Regions from separate parts of the Homo sapiens genome. Here region 2 is linked to region 1. The links are contacts of gene promoters, found by promoter capture Hi-C in human tissues and cell types (Jung and others, 2019). All regions are on one chromosome and are shown on one strand. Each heading gives the region's core, a stretch centred on a gene start or on the middle of the fragment in contact. The rest is flanking DNA. Distances are from core to core; before and after follow the strand shown. Region 1 holds the start of RFPL2 (ret finger protein like 2). Region 2 overlaps SLC5A4 (solute carrier family 5 member 4).

The links. Contacts are between HindIII fragments. The study calls those that stand out against the background at their distance.
Region 2: a fragment that was not itself captured here is called in contact with the fragment with the promoter of RFPL2 in region 1 in 6 of the 25 tissues and cell types used here (dorsolateral prefrontal cortex, lymphoblastoid cells, mesenchymal stem cells and 3 more).

The regions. Positions count from the first base shown.
Region 1 is chr22:32,203,659-32,207,501 of GRCh38, forward strand. RFPL2 (ret finger protein like 2) reads right to left here and starts at 1,415. Exons shown (of 5, transcript NM_001394555.1): 1 at 1,049-1,415. It overlaps SLC5A4-AS1 (SLC5A4 antisense RNA 1), which reads left to right and starts at 1,457. Exons shown (of 4, transcript NR_149072.1): 1 at 1,457-1,589; 2 at 3,478-3,618. RefSeq lists an enhancer at 2,859-3,589. The HindIII fragment of the contact is 14,140 bases long and covers 1-3,843 here.
Region 2 is chr22:32,242,117-32,245,891 of GRCh38, forward strand. All of the region lies in intron 5 of SLC5A4 (solute carrier family 5 member 4), which reads right to left. All of the region lies in intron 2 of SLC5A4-AS1 (SLC5A4 antisense RNA 1), which reads left to right. Among named protein-coding and RNA genes, the nearest start is that of SLC5A4, 11 kb to the right of the region's middle. The HindIII fragment of the contact is 9,090 bases long and covers 1-3,775 here.

The sequences.
Region 1 (3,843 bases), core at 165-2,664:
AGCGCCCCCAACCAGCCCCCAGCCATGGGGAGTGATGCCTCGGATAACACACCCAACAAGTTCCCCACCATGGCACTGATGTCCCAGGTAGCGCCCCCAATCCTTGCCCCTCAGCGACCAGTGCAGCCATGGATAGCGCCCTCAACAAGCCCCTCCACTGACCCCCGCCGCTGTGGGAAATGACGCCCGGGATAACGCACCCAACCCTCCCCCGCCATGAGCAATGCAACACGCACTACTGCTCCTTACACGCCCCCCACTACATGCGGTGTAGCCAACGATGGCGCCCCCATCTCCCCCTCGCCTCGGGCAGTGTAGCTCCCGATAGTGCATCCAACCCATTCCCTCTGCCCCTCTCCTCCCACCGAGTCAACCACCGCCGGCAGTCCAACCCCAAATAGCGCACCCAATCCACTCCCTGCCAGGCAGTGAAGCCCCCCGATAGCACCCAACCCGCACCCCCACCCCCGCCACTGGCAGTCCGCCCCGATAACGCCCCAACACGCTCCTGGCTGTAGGCAGTGTAGCCCATAGATAGAGCCCCCAACCAGCCCCCAGCCAAGGGCAGTGACGCCTCGGATATCACAGCCAACAAGTTCCCTGCCATGCGCACTGATGTCCCAGATAGCGCCCCCAACCCGTACCCCAGCGCGACCAGTGCAGCCACGGATAGCGCCCCCAGCAAGCCACCCCGCGGCTGCGGGAAATGACGTCCGGTAAAGCACCCAACCTTCCCGTGCTGTAGGCAGTGCAGCACCCAATACTGCCCCTAACACGCCTCCCACCACCGGGTTGTAGCCCACGATGGCGCCCTCAATCCGCCCCCGCTCCCACCTCGGGCAGTGCAGCTCCAGATCGTGCATCCAACCTGTCCCCCTCCCCGCCCCCTGCCGCAGGCAGTGAGCCCTGGATAGCTCATCCACCCCGCCACCTTTCTACATTCTGGCTGCGGTCTAGTCTCCCTCACCGCCACCAACGGCAGCGAGCCGAGCCATGCTGCTGCAGGCTTTCAAGCCTCCAGCGTGGGACAGGTGACTCCTCCTCTAACCTGGGCATGGAGCAGATGGGCTGGCAGACGCAGAAGTGCCTGGAATGGCAAGAACCCCTCCCCCCACAGACCGAGGTTATGCAAGTAAGGTTTCTGGACTACATGTTCAGATTGGATGAGAGAAAAACCTCTAGGTCTACTCTGATTGTGCTTTATTTTCACGTTCTGACTGGATGACAGCAAGTCTTAGGATAACCAATCAGAACAAGATAACAAAGCCCGATCAGAGTAGGCCTAGAGGTTTCTCTCATCCGATCAGACTATGTAGTCGAGAAACTTCATTTGCATTAAACTCAGTATATAAAGGATGCCAAGAGGGGTGGCTTGCCCTTCCAGGCTCATCTGCGTCGGCCTGCGTAGCTGCTCTGTGCCCGGCTTAGAGGAGAAGGAGGAGGAGCCACTTGCCGCGCATGCCAGAGGCTAGAGTCATCTACCGCGCATGCTGGAGGCTGGAGCCTACAGTGGCTCACCTCGCTGCTGCGGTTGGTGGCCGCGAGGGTGACTACAGCGCAGCCAGAATGGTGAAAAGGTGGCAGAATAGGTTCGTTATCCCAGGCCGTACTGCCTGTGGCGTGGGGGGCGGGTTGGGGGCCCTATCCAGGGCGTCACTGCCCGTGTTGGGGGGCTGCTTGAGTGTGGTACCTCGGGCGTCACTGCCCGCTGAGGGGAGTGGGGTGGGGGCGCTATCCGGGGGCGCTATCCAGCCTATGGCTGGAGATGGGTTGGGGCGCTATCCGAAGCTGTAATTCCTGCGGCAGTGGGGAGTTTTGGGGGCACTATCTGGGGATGCACTGCCCGCGGCCGGGGGGCGGGGGTGAGTTAGTAGAACTATCAGGTGCTGCAATGCCCTGATGCCCTTGTTGGGGACAGGTTGTGGGGGGCTGGTGGGTGCAACACTGCTGGTGGCGAGGGTGGGTGCTGCTATCCGGTGCTACTCTGCCTGTGGGGGACGGGGGCGGGCGTGATATCCAGGGCATCATTGCCTGCATCTGGGAGCTGGTTGGGGACACTATCCATGGCTGCACTGCCCACAGTGGGGAGCGGGTTGGGGGCACTATTTGGGGCTGCAATGCTGGTGGTGGGGGACGGGTTAGGGTCACTATAGGGTGCTACACTGCTGGCAGTGGGGAGGGGGTTGTTGAGGGCGCTCTCTGGGGGCTACACTGAGACAGGTAGCGGGGGGTTGTTGGGATTGGTACCGGGGCTGGACTGCCCATGGAGAGGGGGTGGGGGCGTTGGTTGGGGGCGCTATTGAGGGCCGGGTACACTGCCTGCGGTGGAGGGGTGGGTTGGGTGCTATCAGGGGTCTGTACTGCCTAGCAGGGAGCGGGTGGGTGTGCTATCTGGGGCTGCACTGGCTGCAGCAGGGGCAGGTTGGGTGCACTATAGGGGGCTACACTGCCCTTGGCAGGGGGTGGTTTAGGTGAGCTGTCTGTGGCCGCACTGCCCGAGGTGGGGAGTAAGTTTGGGTGCTATCTGTGGCTGCACTGCCTGGAGGCAGGAAGTGGGTTGAGGGTGCTATCCTGGGCTGCTTCTCCTGGTGGGGAGCAGGTAGGGGCACTATCCAGGGTTGCACTGCCCGGGGTAGGGGGCGATTTGGGTGCCATATCGGGGCATCACTGCCCACGGCAGGGGTCTGGTTGGGGTCGCTACCCATGGCTACACTGTCTACAGCCACTGCCTACGGCAGGGAGCGGGTTGGGGGCGCTATCCCGGGCTGCGCTGCCCAAGGCAGGGGGTGGGTTGCGGGTGCCATTGGTGCTGCAGTGTCCGAGGCAGGGGCGGGTTGGGGTTGCCATCTGGTGCTACACTGCCAGCTGTGGGGGAGGGTCGGGGGCGCTATCGGGGGCTGCACCGTCCCCCTGGTGGTGGGCAGCGGAGGTGTCAGTGACAGCGGTGGTCAGAGGAGGTGAGAGGGACTCCAGTCTCTAGAGGGCCATCTCCTTCTGCTCCTGGCCAGCACACAGCATTTCTGCGGGGATCCTGAGCACGGCCCGGCCCCTAGACCTGCTGTGGTTCCCAGGCGCGCGCCCTCTCACCATGTGTTGCTGAGACCGTCTGGGACCCCTGGGCACACAGTAGCGGACATCATGGAGTGACAGGGCCCTGTGGGTGGAGGTGTCAGGAAGAGGTACCGGCACTTGGGTGGGGAGGGCTGGCTGGGGTTGAGTTTCTGCTGCTTCTGCTTCCTGAGGAGCGCAGCCAGGGGTGGGCCCAGCGATTCGTGCCGAGTGGGAAGCCCGGACGCTGTACTGTGGTGTCTCCAGTCCCCACCCCAGGCCCCAGTTCCTGGTGAACTTGGGCCAAAAAGGGAGGCTGGGCTTTGGAGGGTAGGTGTGAGTGCCTTTGCTAAAACTGGCCCCTGCCACCTAGTGGCCAGCATGACAAGGTGAGACTCTAATGCTACCACTCTCTGCATCCTGTTCTAGGCTTATCTGACTTTGCCTGCCCAGTTGCTCCGTGCCAGGAGGAGGAGCCACTTATTCCATGCTGGAGGCTGGAGCTGGGGGCACCGCAGCTCACCTTGCTGTGGTTGGTGGTGGCGATGGAGACTACAGAGCACCAGAGCGGTAGGAGAGCAGCAATGGAGACTGCAGAGTGCCAGAGCAGTAGGAGGGCGGCTGGCTGCTGCCTGGGCAAGGGCAGGCCTGCTGTGGTATCCAGGTGGTAGGAGCCTTGTAGGGTGGACCAGTGGACTGAGGGCAACAGGAACAGTGGTTGTATTGGCATCAGTGCTAGTGGTGGCAGCAGCAGCAAGTCTGGAGGTTGGGAAGGCGGGTAGGAGCGCTCCAGGG
Region 2 (3,775 bases), core at 330-2,829, 39 kb after region 1:
GTATGTATGCATTTATTTCCTAATGATGTCAGCTAAAATAGTCAAGAAAAAAAGTCCACCCAATAAGCACACTTAGCACGCAGATTTTTGTTTCTAATACCCCTCCCCACTAAAGGAGCCAGGGCTCTCCCAGAAAAATAGGTGACTCCAGGACTGGAGCAGGGCTGGTACAAGATGAGTCTGAAACATTTTGTTAGGCCAGAATTTAAGAAATTGCCCAACAAAATGATGGGATCATGCCCCATCCTTTACACAGAATCCAGTTTGAGGAACTCTCACTGGCCAAATGTGGTGTAAGTATCAAAATAACTGGCTGGGCGTGGTGGCTCATGCCTGTAATCCCAGCACTTTGGGAGGCCAAGGCGGGCAGATCACGAGATCAGGAGTTCGAGACCAGCCTGACAAGCATGGCGAAACCCTATCTCTACTAAAAATACAAAAAATTAGCCAGGTATGGTGGCGCGTGCCTGTAGTCCCAGCTACTTAGGAGGCTGAGGCAGGAGAATTGCTTGAACCTGGCAGGCAGAGGTTGCAGTGAACTGAGGTCACACCACTGCACTCCAGCCTGGGCGACAGAGTGAGACTCCGTCTCAAAAAAAAAAGTATCAAAATAACTGCATATAATAATATTGGTAAACCAATGATAAATAGGAATGTATCAGTCCATATCAGTAATAGATAAATAGAGAAGGGAAGACTCCTGCCCTCAGTAGCCTGCTGAATGCTGTCTGGGAACTGTGGAAGGAGTGCTAGGAGTTTTGGAAAATTATTATTTGGCAACCATCATAGTAAAGATTGGATCTGATAAGAACCATTTATGAATGCTAAATCTAGTGGAAAAATTTGAAGAGGAACTGGATATTTCAGTGGTTTAAAGGATCTGTCACAGACTGCTTATTGGTTACAGGGGAAAATAAAACAGTAATTCTATAGTGGAGAAACTGGGCAATACTTTGACCAGGTGATTAAAATTAACATCACCATTGAGGAACAGACGGGCATTGAATGCTTCTAGATAGGATACTTTTAGTAGGATACATCACTTATGCAGTATTCCAGCCAAGAAGAATGCATAACGTGAATCCAACCATGAAGAAATATCAGGCAAATCCAAAAGAAAAATTGTCATATTAAGAAGGGTGGAGTAGGGACTCTATCCTTCAAATTGTCAGTATCATCAAAGACAGAAAAAGGGTATGGAAATGTTCCAGATGAAAGGAGGCTAAAGACACTTGGCAAGTGAATGTAGTACCTGACCCTAGACCGCATCCTGTACTGGAGAAGAAAAGATGATTAAAAAAGGTATTACTGGGTCAATTTACAAAGTTGGAATTTAAATGGTAGATTAGTGTATCCATGTTATGTTTACTTGAGTTGATAATTCCAATTGGTTTTGCAAGAAATTATCCCTGCTCCTAGGAATAACAATATACAGGGAAGGCTCAGTTTAAAAAACCATCATTTTACACTGCCACAGTAAAGACTGGATCAGGTAAAAATCACTGGATCAGGTAGAATCATCAATGAGTGTTAAATCTGGGGGAAATTTTACATTGAAATTATTGGGGTTAAAGGGCAATGACATATGTAACAATTTCAAATAGTTAAAAACATATGAGAGACACTTTGGGAGGCCAAGCAGGGTGGATCATTTGAGGTCAGGAGTTTGAGCCCAGCCTAGCCAACATGGTGAAACCCCATCTCTACTAAAAATAGAAAAAAATTAGCCGAGCGTGTTGGTGCATGCCTGTAATCCTGGCTACTGGGGAGGCTGAGGCAGGAGAATCACTTGAACCTGGGAGGCAGAGGTTGCAGTGAGCTGAGATTGTGCCACTGCACTCCAGCCTGGAAGATAGAGTGAGACTCTGTCTCTGTTTCTGTGTTGAAGTTGGGGCTAGAAACAGGTGTAGCAGGAGACGGTTGTATTTTTCTCTAAGATTTGAAATAAAATCTGACATTTTATCATCCCATGCGATACTGATGTTGGCCAAAAACCTGTTCTTGATTTTCTGAGCCTAGATCCCAACTCGGTTGTACAAATGCAAAGTACTTTCTGTAACTCTATTGCACATTGGGGTTTCCCAGGAATACCAACTAATATTGAGGGAAGATTTCACTTTTAAAAAAATGTTCAGCATTTCAGAAAAAGAGTGTTACCTGTGGAGGTGCCACGTGTGATATCTGCCTCTGCCTGCATTTATAGCTGTCTTCACTCATACTGCTTTATCCTCATCCACAGAGGGGCGAGTATTACACCACAGCATTTTGACTTCATGTGTAGTTCTACTTAATCATTTTCATATTAAAACACACTATCTTATTATGGATTCTTTGACCTTTGTTTCTATTATATAGTACTATTAAGGAATTAAATCCATGGTTTTAAAATTGTATGTAAGTAGTTGACATATTATCAATGAATTTTTTCCTAAAGAAATAGGGACTACTCCAGGTCACTCACGCTGTGGTGCAATGGCATGATCTTAGCTCATTATAACTTAGCTCCTGGGTTCAAGTGATCCTTCTGCCTCAGCCAAAGTAGCTGGGACAATAAATGTGTGCCCCCATACCTGGCTAAATAATTTTTTTTTTGGTAGAGATAAGGGTCTCACTATTTAGCCCAGGCAGGTCTGGAACTCCTGGCCTCCAGTGATCCTCCTGCCTCAGCCTCCCAAAGTGCTGGGATTACAGGCAGAAGTCACTGGGCTCAGCCATCAATGACATTTTTCTTTTATTGTGATGAAACATATATGACATAAAATTTACCATTTTAACCATTTAAGTATATAATTCAGTGGCATTAATTACACTAACAATGACTGTAAAATATTTCTCATAATAAAGAGGAATTGCAAGGATCAGGATTTTCTTTTGCTATAAAGGACTGTATTAAAACAATAGTCAATATCTGAATAAAGACTGTAGATTAGATAATAGTTTATATCAAATCTCAATACATATGTTATTGCAGGTTGAGAACCAGTGAACAAGATGATCTTTTTCCAACCTGGGCAGAGGAGAGTTATGAAAACTGTCCTGTCCTAACGTCTCATAACGATCTGTTTAATAAGTAACTAGGAGACAATCCGTGTGTCAGAGTGTAAGAGTACACAAAAGGTCATGTCTAAGGTTAATCATTATTAATGTCACTTAAGACATAAACCTGCAGGCAAGAATGGACTCCTGCTAAGGTGTCTTTCCAGCCAGCCACAGACTCTGCACAGCCACAGACCTGCACATGGCTTCCCTGCACCCACACCTAGCTCACCAACATTCTGTCCCTCCCCATCCACCAGTGACCCTCCAGTCTGGGAGGTTGCATCCTTCGGGGGCCCCTTTTCACTGTGCATTGTCCTCTGTTCTATGCCTTCATGCCTTCTCATGCTCTTTTTTAAATAAAAATTTTATTTATCTACTTTTTTGAGACGGAGTCTCGCTCTTGTCACTAGGCCGGAGTGCAGTCGCGCGATCTCGGTTCACTGCAACCTCTGCCTCCCGGGTTCAAGCAATTCTCCTGCCTCAGCCTCCTGAGTAGCTGGGACTACAGGTGCATGCCACAATGCCCAGCTAATTTTTGTATGTTTAGTAGAGACGAGGTTTCACCATGTTGGTCAGGATGGTCTCCATCTCTTGACCTCATGATCTGCCTGCCTCGGCCTCCCAGAGTGTTGGGATTACAGGCGTGAGCCACTGCGCCCGGCCTGCTCATGCTCTTCAGAACTGTAAAGCTGTAGATGTCAGCACCAGAGGACAATTGGGAGACTAGCAAGTCCAA